Linked DNA regions of Homo sapiens: region 1 is linked to region 2. The links are contacts of gene promoters, found by promoter capture Hi-C in human tissues and cell types (Jung and others, 2019). All regions are on one chromosome and are shown on one strand. Each heading gives the region's core, a stretch centred on a gene start or on the middle of the fragment in contact. The rest is flanking DNA. Distances are from core to core; before and after follow the strand shown.

Region 1 (6,632 bases), core at 1,938-4,437, 110 kb before region 2:
TTGACACTCTGTGTACAAGAATGCCAAAGTAAAAGCTACATTTGCTAATTATGATGAACTGCTGAATAGACATTGCTAGGTCCTAGTGTCATCAGACAGTCATGTCCTGACAAATGTGAAGTACCACCAAAGCTATTAAACCTAGTTTTGAGACTTTTAAATAACATTTCAAAGAATCTTATGACTAAAGAAATAGAAATTTCGTAAGAGGCCAGGCATGGTTCACACCTGTAATCCCAGCACTTTGGGAAGTCAAGGCAGGAATATTGCTTCAAACCCAGGAGTTTGAGACCAGCCTGGGCAACACAGTGACACTTCATCTCTACAAAAAATAAAATAAAAAATAGCCAGGTGTGGTGGTACACGCCTGTGGTCCTAGCTACTCAGGAGGCCAAGGAGGAAGACTGCTTGAGCCTAGGAGGTCAAGGATGCAATGATCCATGCTCTGCCTACTGCACTCCAGCCTGGGCGACAGAGCAAGACCCTGTCTCAAAAAAAAGAAAAAAGAAACTTTGTAAGAGGGGAATGAGAACTATCCAACATGTCAAAGATCAAGATGGCATGAGTCAGTAGCTTTCAAAATAGATTTTAGCAGGAAAAAAAAAAACCAACATTTTTTCAAACAGAATCTTACACAGAACTTCAATAAATGAAACAGATAAACATTTTGCTGCTCAAGGTTTAAGTGGTGATAGGGCTTCTACCTAACTTTCATCTCAGCAGAAAGGAGTAGCTACAGAACATACTGAAAACCTCTGACCTAAACCTTTGACCTAAGGCTTACCAAAGCAACTGCCTTTGCTAAACGAAAAAGATGAGCTATACTGAATAAAAAAACAACAAACGCAGCCCTCCCAATCTTACCACGCTATCTTTCTAACTAAAAGGATAAATCTCAAAAAACAAAACAGAACAAAAATGAAAGCTCCTAGTCATTCAAATGGATCTCCAGTATGTGTGATTATGACAGAACACTAGGAGTTGATATGAAACAAAGTGGTACCTGAACTAAAACACAGAGATGGAATGCATTGCTATTCCAGTGAAATTTCTTAATATGAAAAATAAACAGGAAAAGTTATTCATACAGAGTGACATTTGTTGGGGGAGGCCCAGCAAATAAAACACATACTTACTAAGGCCCCAGTAAACTTAGCATTGTTGTTGTGCATTGCTGGTCACAGGGATGCCAACTTGGATAAATGGTGACCCCAGGTCTAGCTCCCCATGTCTCAGTTCAAGACCTTCGTTAAAAAAATAAAGCCATCCACAGGCATAAAGAAAAAGTATTCTCCAAGGAGTTCATGTGTAATAGGCTCATTTCACTCCTATTATCAAATACTGATAATATTGGATAATATTAAATATTATCCCCCAGAGCAAAATATTACAAAGATTAAGACATCAAAAAAATGGATGCCCTAAGAATGAAGGGTGCTGGCCTAAACAACTCAACAACCTCATATTCCATGATCTTCCAGACACATGTTATCAGTGGCCTAGGAATTAAATACAGTTGAGAAGGACTCACAACTGTATCATGATAGCCAATCACTGAAGTGGCTATAAAACATTTGGAAAGAAACGTCTAAGAATCCATAAACCAGCAACCATGACTATGCTATCCAATTACCATTTACAACAATCAGGTTTCCCAAAGGCACACAGGTGAGAGTAGCGGAGCTGCCCTCGCAGAGAGGATGCATGTACTGCAGCTTATACACCCCGCTCAACTTCCACTTCTCCGGCATGGACAGTGCTTTGGCTTCGGTGCCCTGGGGAACGAAATGAAAGGGAAACAAATAATGAAGAAAGGTGTTACTCTCAAAAAGATTAAAAATCCAAAAGACTCCTAACTTGTTTGAAATAATCACTCCACACAGTCCTCTTAATAAAATGCATCAAATCATTAACATTGCCAATATATTTTATATTGTAGGATAACCATATTGTATAAGATAATATATTAGAACACTTTTAATCAAAATTTTTGTTCAAATAGGTAAAACTGCATCATGGAAACAGGGATTGATCTCTCTCTTCAAAGACTCACTTCTCTCCTAGCAAAGCCATATGATTATTTAAAACTCCGGCTCAAATATCACTTCCTCCGTAAAGCCTTTTTCAAAGAAAAATTGTTTGCCATTTCCTTTCATCCCCTAGCATTCTATTCATATTTCCATTACACTTCAATTGTATTATTATCTATGTTTACCTGTGTTATTTCTGAGTATCTTTTTATTCATCTCTCTCCTCTATGTATGGACTCCTTGAAGACAAGAAATATCCCAATATTTTTATATCCTAATTTCTAGGTCAGTGCATGGCATGCTGCAGGTGTGCACTGATCACCGAACTACTCTGTATCTTTGTAACTTATAACATGGCTCACAGACCAGCAACATTGGTATTATGCAGGAGTATGAAGAAGTTCACGGTCCATTCTACAGTTACTAAATCAGAATCTGCATTTTAATAAGGTCCCCAGGTATTCCAAAGCGCATTAAAGTTTGAGAAGCAATATTCTAAATGTTCTCCTCCATGAATTCCTGGCATCCTATATATGAGTATGTTTCTCCCAGAACTTCACCAATATAGCACAGTGCTTTATATTTTTGTCTCTCTCTGCCACTCTCAGACTACGGGCAACTTGAGAGCAGGAACCATCCACATGTATGAGCAATCATAAGATGTCTGTGTTTTGCTTGCAGTACTTACCTGAGGTATGTAACCTGACTCCAACATGAGAAGATGTATCAACACTATCAAGGCATCATTGGCATCAGAACAGTCAGCTGATTGATACAAGGTCTCTAATGAATGTGGCACTTGCCCTTCCACCGATTCACTACAGAGCATGGGTTCTGAGGGATAGAAACCTGTGCCCTCTGCCATATGCGCATTATCTTGAATTGACTCAGCTTCAAAATTTTGACTAGGCCCTAACTGAAAAAGGAAAACAAAACAATGAATTAATTAAAGACTTATTTTTACACTATACATTTTTGTATCCTAAAGTGAACTAAGTGCTGAAAGTCAAAGTACATCATTGGGTTCAGAAATGGGAGACATTTTAAGTGAGTCCTTACAAATAAATAAGCCTGCGACCTACTCTTCCATCCTGAATTCCTTACCTCTGTTAATTCTAGCTGGTATGTCAAGAACCTGGAAATCATCCTAGACTCCTCCCTCCCTAACTAAACCTTGTTCCACATCTGATCAGTCTTCAAAGTTCCCTGAAACTAACTCCTAAATATGTCTAAAATTTGCCCCTTCCTGCTCTATTGGCACTTCAAACTCTCATCATTTATTTCCCGACATCCAGCAAGAGCTTCCGTTGCAAGTATCCCTTCTTCAACTTTCTTGTCTTCCAATACACCCCAGTCCCTGCTGCCAGAATTTTCTTGACAATTAAAAATCTGATCATGTACTATGTCGCAGCTTAAAATTCACCAGTACCTCCCCAACATAAACAGCATTTCCCTCAATTGTGCCTTAGATGTTCTTAGGAAAAAAGGTGGTGCACACGGAATAAGTGTGGAAAATACTGCATGCTGCAGCCACCTAACTTCACCCTCCATATTCACAAAATACACTATTCGCATTATATAAGCACTGAGGAGTCTAATAACAATAATAGTGTGTGCCTAACACTTTACCAAAAAACACTATCCTCCGTCCTCAGCAGTCAACATCCCTGTGACACCATCTCATGAAACTAGATTTTCAGAGGACACTGAGAAATGCAGGTCTACAAATGAAGACCAAACTTCTAAATCCCTTAGCATACAAAGTCCTTCATTACCTGATCTCTGACTCATTATCAAGTTCACTTTCTGCCAGTGCCTTCTTACTCATCCCAGTATTTTCCACTTCTTCAAAAGAGGTAACACAGACCACAACTCTGCCTTGCAACGGGCTTGATTACTGCACCTTATCACACTGCACTGTATTGCAATTTTCTGATTACATATCTGCATCCTTCCATGACTGCAAGTTTATAAAAAACCAGACTACATGTCACCCATTTTTGTAACCCCAGTAAAGTACCTAGCACATAGCAGGTATTCAATGTTTGCTGAACAAATGCTGAAGGATAATACCTTACAACTTCATAATGTCTTTATTTTCAAAATGTTTTCTTATTTGCACTTTATAACAATCCTATAAAATAGGCATGGCAGGTATCGCCTTTTTATAGATCCTATAATTATAAATCAGAAAGATTAAATAACATAATCAAGGTTACCAGCTAATAAAAATTTGAAACGAACCCAGATCTCTAAACTTGCAGTTCAGGGCTTTGAGATGTAATACATGGCTTCAAAAAAAACTAAGTTACCTATATTAAGTTTGCTCAGAAAGCTTGTTTCCTAGGCATATGCCCAACTCTTAATGCAAAGCATACGTTTCGTCTTTTTAGGGTTTGTTTAAAGAAGGGGCAAAGGAAATTAAAATTACACAGTATATGTAAAAGGTTGGAGAAATGGAGGGGAGCCGGAGGTGACAGCTGTTCTTCCAAAATCTCTGAGGACCTAAGCCCTAGGGCTTATGGAAAAGATCCAAAGTCACCTGTTAAAACCTAAAGGCCAATGACAAGTCACATTACCCAAAAAGGAGGTATGGCACAAAAATATTTCCATATTTCCTAAGAAAACAGAAACAACTACATTAAAAACCACTTAACATCAAGCTAAACTATGAAACATAGGTTTTGCTTCTTTACCACTATGTCTAACTTTTGGCCATTTACTACTTATTGGCAGTTGTGTGGGACAGAATATATGAGGAAAAATGAAAAAGGGTACCCTAGGCTGAGTACATGAGAGGGAGATATCAAAATCCCCTGCTGGGCTTGTCAAGCCTTACTACTACTCCATAAGAACCACTGACATTCTCTGAGCTATTCTGATATGAATATTTATCAAATTCTTCACATGTGTAAAAATGAAAAAAAAAAGGTGAGCACCACACCTCTCTAAACAGATCATTTTGCCATATGTCATTTACAAAAGACTAAAACAAGTGACTAAGATGCATGAGAGCTAATATTAGGTTCTGATACCTGCTACCCGTTTCTCATTAAAGACTCAAGAGGCACTCGATGAATTCCCAAATATGATGAAATAAGAAAACTGATATTTAATTACAAGAGTAAATTTACCTCCTATGGTTTCAAGTTTTACGCATCTATTTTCCTTTTCTAATGCTCCATTCTACATTACAGAGTGTGATGTACTTGAAAGCATTATTTATGAGATCTTGAGCTCAGTTTCCATACTCTAAAGATTTTCCTGTCACCCTTTACAAGTCTTGGAATACAAAACAATATGCAAAATCTTAGAACTGAAATTAGTAACTTCAGGCAACATTAATTTCTCAAAATTTTCCAAAAGGAAACTAGCAAACTATCACAAATACTGTGAAAAGCTTCATCTTACTAGACAACTTTAAAAGTACACAGAAGTAAAAGTAATGGCCCCTACTAAGTCATCCCAGAACAAGTCTATCAGCAAAAAAGACTCAGAAATATAATTTAAATATACAGCGAAATATTCTTACTCATTCCCCAGTTTACCTCTATGAGGCAGAAACACACAGATAAAACAATAACTTTAAAAATAAATTAAAATCCACATATCTGGACATAATTTTCACAATTTACCAATCTATTAAAAAGTATTTTTTAATATGTCTATACTTAATGCCATGACAAGTTACCATGAATACTTATACTCAAAAATGTTTAAGGCCAGCAATTAAATTGAGGTGATAAGCATACATACAAAAACCAATTAACAAGAAGGCATGTGTATTGGTATTAAAAAAATAAAGGTGATCATTTGCACCATTCAAAAAATTAAAAGGGCGGATAAAGGCCAGGCACGGTGGCTCACATCTGTAATCCCATTACTTTGGGTGGCCAAGGTGGGCAGGTCACTTGAGGTCAGGAGTTCAAGACCAGCCTGAGCAACATGGTGAAACCCCATCTCTACCAAAAATACAAAAATTAGCCAGGCGTGGTGGTGTCTGTGGTCCCAACTACTCGGGAGGCTGAGGTGGGAGAATCGCTTGACCCCGGAAGGGTAGGGTTGCAGTGAGCTGAGATTGTGCCACTGCACTCCAGCCTGGGTGAGGGAGTGGGATCCTGTCACCAAAAAAAAAAAAGGTGGGAAAAATGAGGAGGCATGTACAAGGCAATAAAGATAATCAGATAATCAATACAAAGAAATTAAAGAAAACTATTGGGCTATGGTTGGCAAGGGCTTAGGAAGATGGGTAGAAATATAGACTAGAGAGGGAGGAAAGGTAACAGGTTCCAGTCTGGGTGAACAGCAAGAGCAAAGTCACAAAAGTAGTCACCAGGTTGTGTGTGTGCACATGCATGCAAGCAGGTGAATGTGCTGGTTGGTGGGGGCGGGGGAAAATGATGGGTCTGTTCTGATTGGAGATGACAGTTTAAAGGAAGGAAGAACAGAAACTAGCCCTAAAAAAGTTGAGTGGAGTAACTTTTCAGAAAGCCTTGAGCACTAGGTACAGGAGGACAGACACCATTTTCCTCTTCTGTAAAATGACAGGGTTGAACTAGAGATATATTGTCTTTTTCAGCTCAAAAATTATGAGCACAAGTT
Region 2 (6,486 bases), core at 2,061-4,560:
CAAAGGACATGAACTCAATACCATTCAGGACGTAGGCATGGCCAAAGACTTCATGAGTAAAACACCAAAAGCAATGGCAACAAAAGCCAAAATTGACAAATGGGATCTAATTAAACTAAAGAGCTTCTGCACAGCAAAGGAAACGATAATCAGAGTGAACAGGCAACCTACAGAATGGGAGAAAATTTTTGCAAAAGATGGCTTTTAAGTAATTTACACAGCAGGTTGTCTATTAATATGTAACATGCTAACAGATCTATTTGAGCGATCCTATTTCCTTGAGATTAAAGGTAGATTTGGCATTTTCTTCAAAAAGATATTTTTACTCTGTTTCTATAGTGTGAAATTGTACTTCATTACGAAGTGATCTCTTATGTCTGTCGTTAAAATAAATCAAACCAGAAACTAAATCCAGCTCTAGGAAGACTACACTTTATTTTATTTATCTCTGATGCATCTTATAATTTTTTTTGCTATGAGTGTCTGTGTGGATACTCTTCATTAAGAAAAACAGATTCTTTTGGAATATATTACCTTTCTACACTAACATTTCTTCCTGGCTAACACGGTGAAAACCCGTCTCTACTAAAAATACAAAAAATTAGCCGGGCGTGGTGGCGGGCGCCTGTAGTCCCAGCTACTCGGGAGGCTGAGGCAGAAGAATGGCGTGAACCCGGGAGGCAGAGGTTGCAGTGAGCTGAGATCGCGTCACTGCGCTCCAGCCTGGGCGACAGAGCAAGACTCCGTTTAAAAAAAAAAAAAAAAAAAGCTAGATGACAACCACAATACTAAGTAATGCAACTCTAATACTAATGCATTTTACATAGTTACTAAATAATCCATTTTCTTGCTTTCAATATTCCTAATGCTAGATGAAAGTACTGTTTAGTTTACCAAACCTTTAATCAAAAATGTCTAATCAGTACATCTTTTTAGCCCTTTAATTCATGTTAGAGAGTTTTAAGATGGAAGAAACAAATTAGACTCAAATTAAAAAAAAGTCTGACCTACAGTAGCTATTAGATAGTTAACATTTGTGACATCATCATGATTTTGTTCTGATACATGTATTTCACTTAGCATTGTTGAAATCAACTGGAATAATAGCCAAATAAAAACATTCTTTTAGTTATAATTTCAAAAACGATTGAAATTTATCAACAGTCATAACAACATCATTGTACTCTTAAATTAGACAATTCTTAGCACATATAAAAACATATTTACCTCTTTCAACTAGGACAATGTTAGAATTTATCAAAATTCACCATCATCAACTTTTTTTTTTTTTTCCAAAATCTTGATTGTTAGGTACTATAAAACTGCACCCTAATCAAATGATGTGTTTTTGATCTGATGATTTTACAAAGTTGGGAGGAAATTCAACGAAAAAAATACTTGTACAATTAAATTTCAAATCCTAAACATTTACTTATTTAAGCCTGCCTCTCTAAACTTAAAATAGATATCAGCTCCTCCAATAGGATGAGTAGATTTTCTCACTATATTTTCCACTTCTTTTTAAATTTTCTCCTCCATTTGAGCATTCAGAAGCATGAATCTGTGGGGATTGTTAAAGTTTTTTTTTAGTTTGCTGCATTTCTGAGTATACAAACACATACACATATAACTATAGTATCGTGTGTGTGTGTGTATAATTTGTGTATATACATATATTTGTTCAATCTGGAAGCCATTGAAATTTTCTGTTTATAACAACACAGAATGACCTATTCTTTCAGCACCTACCCCATTACACCCTCTGTTTTATAATCACTGGACAAAATATAGCATCATCTATATTAATGCAGATTGTATACATCATTTGTGACCTATTTATTTGTTCTAGAAATTTGTACTTAGCAATGATAGACATTTGTACTGTAATATTTATATCATGAAGGGTACCTATTCTCTTTGAAACATAGCAACTCTCTCATCTTAACCCTAAAATTTTCATTTGTTCTATTTATTTTAGGGCAGGTCACTTTCAACAGCTTGTTTTCTTGGGCATATCATAAAAGTATTTGCAATTGGGTGTTATGTATCAGCCAGAATACACACGTAGTTATACATTTTGAAAGTTATCTAAAATTCTGCATTCAGAAACACTTTAATTATATGTATTAGGCTGGGCATGGTGGTTCACGCCTCTAATCCCAATACTTTGGGAGGTCGAGGTGGGTGGATTGCTTGAATCCAAGAGTTGAAGACCAGCCTGGGCACCATGGAAAAACCCCATCTCTACAAAATATTAGCTGAGCATGGCGGCAAGAACCTGTAGTCCCAGCTACATGGGAGGCTGAGTTGGGAGGATCACCTGAGCCTGGGAGGTCAAGGCTGCAGTGAGCCATGATCAAGCCACTGCACTCCAGCCTGAGTGACAGAGTGAGACCCTGTCTCAAATAAAAAATTATATGTATTCACCCAAAGTGTTCACCCCACCGAGAAGATGCACTGGTGAAAATATAGTGATTTTTTTTTCCTTTAAATACTCAGTGAATGGCCAGCCGTTTACATACACAATGGTAGACAAATTCCTCTGTGAATTCACAAAGTTTGGGAGATAAATAAGTGCATAGTAATATATAGAGATAAGTGGAAAAATAAGTTTCATAATTATATTGTGAGAGAAATATGATTTTTATAATATCAAGTAACACTTTTTTCTAATTCTGAACAGTTTATTGCTTCTAGAAACATTAGATCACTCAGGAATGGTAGAAATATGACTTTTTAGGGAAATATGACTTTTAAAATGTGACTTTAAAAAATGTCACTTTTTAAGAAACATGACTTTTATAACAATATCCATTTATGCTGTCTTTAATTCTGAACAGTTTGCTTATTGGTTCTAGAAATATTAGATGACTCAGGAATGGTAGAAATATTTGGCAATGGAATTTCGAATCGAGAATGGAACTTCTGGTTGTTACTAACATATCGGTTTTGCCCCTGCTCAGTTTGAAATTCTTGCCATTGAGTGTATTTTGGGGTACACAATTTCTCCTCCTAAAACTTATTTTAATAAGCACAGAATAGTAATTAATGAGCTTGGGTTTTGTTGTTTTTTTTTTAAGTAAAACGCCTAATCTTTTATTTTATTTTATTTTATTTTATTTTTTTACGGAGTCTCGCTCTGTCGCCCAGGCTGGAGTGCAGTGGCGCTATGTCGGCTCACTGCAAGCTCCGCCTCCCGGGTTCACGCCATTCTCCTGCGTCAGCCTCCCGAGTAGCTGGGGGCTCCCGCCACCACGCCCGGCTAATTTTTTGTGTTTTTAGTACAGACGGGGTTTCACCATGTTAGCCAGGATGGTCTCTATCTCCTGACCTCGTGATCCACCCACCTCGGCCTCCCAAAGTGCTGGGATTACAGGTGTGAGCCACCACTCCCTGCCGTAAAAGGCCTAATCTTTAATGACCCTCCTGTGCGTGTGAAAGCACTCTTGTTGGTGCAGCAGAAAGCGGACCTCACAATACACATTGTGACTTTACCCTGAGACGTTGATGATGCTCCTATCACCATGGTTATGTGATTGGGTATATCTTGCCCTCGGTCCTAACTGCCACTGTCTGTGCTGAGTTTTTCAAAGTTCATAGCAGGTTGAACATGCTTGCTGTCATTTTCACAGATTCTGGTCTTTCTTATGGGGAACCTGAGTTCCTGCATTAAAGGTATGTTCACATTGGCCTGTTGAATGCTGTCCTCTCAAATGTACTAGTTAATATTTAAAAATATATTTTATTAAAAAATTCTCCTCTGTATTTTTCATATGCAGTTATAAATGTGTTTCCCGGTTATGTTTTATTCCTCAATTTATATATTTGATTCTAGTATCAAGCAGGATGCCTTTGAGCTTTTCCTTTATTTAAAAGACATGTCTTATTTCCTGTTACATCTGGCACCCCTCAAACCACCCAATTAGGTATCCTTCTGGGAAAAATATGGCAAAGTATGTTTTAATGCAGTTTTTACCTAATTAAGAACCTATTAAAATCATTAATTTTAAAAATTAGGAGCAAAGCTAGAATGATGCAGATGTCTTTGAGGCTTTTAACACAACGAAGTGTGTCCATCTTTGTCTTTTGTTGTTGTTTTTTTGTTTGTTTGTTTGTTTTTGAGATGGAGTCTCACTCTGTCGCCCAGGCTGGAGTGCAACGGTGCGATCTCGGCTCACTACAACCTCCGCCTCCCGGGTTCAAATGATTCTCTCGCCTCAGCCTCCCGAATAGCTGGGATTTCAGGCACCCACCATCATGCCCGGCTAATTTTTGTATTTTTGTAGAGACAAGGTTTTACCATGTTGGCCAGGCTGGTCTTGAACTCCTGACCTCAGGTGATCCACCTGCCTCGGCCTCCCAAAGTGGTGGTGTTACAGGCGTGAGCCACCACACCAGGCCCTGGCCTGTTTTTAGTATGTCTTTCCTCTCTCCTTTTTCATGAAATGTGTATTCAGTTTAGTAAATTTGGAATATGTCATTTATATTCACATATTAACTTTTTGAAAAGAAGTAAGAATGTGTATTGTCTATGTGTCAGTGTGTGAAACAAAACACACTTATTTTTATGATTGGGGTTTATCCAAAATGATAGAGATAACAATTATAGTCAATCACCCAAACCACTTACCTTTCCAAAGGTAAATATAATCAAGTGTAATCATTTTTTCTCATCCAGAGAGTAGTTCATATTTCAACATACAAAGATAGAGAAGTGAAATGAATCGGTAAACACTATTAACCAAGAACATACAGATTTACTCACACCAGGAAACACGTAGGTCACATACATATATGTAAAGATACATTTAAAAATAATAAGATGATAATTGTACAAGTTTGCATATAAAGTGTAACTTTGAAAAACTGTTAATACTGTTTCTGATGGATTGTGTGACTTAGTTCTCCTGACCTATCCTTCAGAGTTCTTTCTAAGGAGGTTGTTCGTTCCATGACTTGGAAACAATCGAAAGTTAGAGGCACTTACATGTGTTAAGAATAAATAAGGCAGCTGGGCGCGGTGGCTCATGCCTGTAATCCCAGCACTTTGGGAGGCCGAGGCAGGCAGATCACCTGAGGTCAGGAGTTCAAGACCAGCCTGACCAACATGGAGAAACCCCATCTCTACTAAAAATGCAAAATTAGCTGGGCGTGGTGGTGCACACCTGTAATTCCAGCTACTCAGGTGGCTAAGGCACAAGAATCACAGAACACAGGATACCACTTCACAATTAGCCTCAGGTGTCACCCTTGTGGCAACTCTCCTGTACAGCTGGGTTAAAGAGCCTCGGTGCTCACATGGGGTCATCTCCTCACTCTGCCTTCCTTCACTGTGGGTAGCTTGGGCTGAAACTAGACCTCATATGGCTAGGTGAACTAGACCTGGCTGAAACTAGGCCCCCTCATGCAATGATTGCAAACACAAGGGATAGGAAGGGAAGACTAAAAGGAAGATCTTTGATTTACAGTGGATATTTTAACATGTATTTCAGTATTTTCCAGTTTTTAATAATTGATTTATAACAAAGAATTGAGTAAATATAATTAGCCCTGGTACCTGATATTGAATTTAGTTCCTCAATAAAAATTTACACATAAACAGGGGCTGAATCCTATACCCCAGATGTTAAATGTTACAGCAGCAGATGGGGGTCTGTGGAGGTTGAAAGGGAGTTGGTCAATATCAAGGAGTCAGTGGCAGTTCTGCTGGACTTTAAAATGGGCTGAGGGAGTGACAGGACTCTGTGGTTGAATTCTAGCATGCATTTTAGTAGTTGCTCATTTGAAGTTTGAGTATTTCGTGTCGCTTTCATCTGCTATTACCTGGAAAGACAAAGGCTCTATTTCTCATTTCCTTTCTGCCCGTCTCTCTGCCTTCCTTGGTCCATAGAAGAGGATGGCCCAGGAGAAGCTCAATTCATGCTTGTTAACCAACCACATCCATAAGTTCTAGCCCTTTGTTCATGTCACCACCAATGAACTGACAGTCATGTTGTGTCCTTTCAGTTCCCCCAGAAGATCAATGGAAGGTGGATTCCAAAGAGTGGGCAAGTGAGGACCCCTTCTCTGTTACCAAGGTAAAGTAGCCTGTCTTTGCCTAACATGTGTGTAATTTTCTTGGTTATTTCATTTTTCAATTGATATCAGATAGAGAAAAATGATCAGGTGCGTTATAGGTGTTAGATGATGTTTCCTTGGGGATGGAGGGGTGCACCCCACCCACTGACACCTGATTGAAGAGGACATCTGGAATTGGCAGGGCTGGGTCACACACAGCATGTTAGGGGACACTTTCCTCTGCAACAAGCTTTCCACTTTAGATTAAGTATTTTGTAACTGCTACTTCAAAATGGTCTTGACAAAGATTTTTTTTTTTTTTTGAGACGGAGTCTTGCTGCGTAGCCCAGGCTGGAGTGCAGTGGTACGATCTCGGCTCACTGCAAGCTCCGCCTCCCGGGTTCACGCCATTCTCCTGTCTCAGCCTCC

What was found. The method cuts DNA at HindIII sites, captures the fragments that hold promoters and counts their contacts. A contact is called where the count stands out against the background at its distance.
Region 1: a contact is called between a fragment that was not itself captured here and the fragment with the promoter of RFPL3S in region 2, in 2 of the 25 tissues and cell types used here (IMR-90 fibroblasts and lymphoblastoid cells).

What each region holds. Positions count from the first base shown.
Region 1 is chr22:32,480,211-32,486,842 of GRCh38, reverse strand. FBXO7 (F-box protein 7) reads right to left here. Exons shown (of 9, transcript NM_012179.4): 3 at 2,719-2,946; 4 at 1,634-1,775. Among named protein-coding and RNA genes, the nearest start is that of FBXO7, 8.7 kb to the right of the region's middle. RefSeq lists an enhancer at 1,165-1,334. The HindIII fragment of the contact is 5,819 bases long and covers 278-6,096 here.
Region 2 is chr22:32,368,088-32,374,573 of GRCh38, reverse strand. RFPL3S (RFPL3 antisense) reads left to right here and starts at 3,310. Exons shown (of 5, transcript NR_104232.1): 1 at 3,310-3,376; 2 at 3,633-3,675; 3 at 6,007-6,077. The HindIII fragment of the contact is 22,540 bases long and covers 1-6,486 here.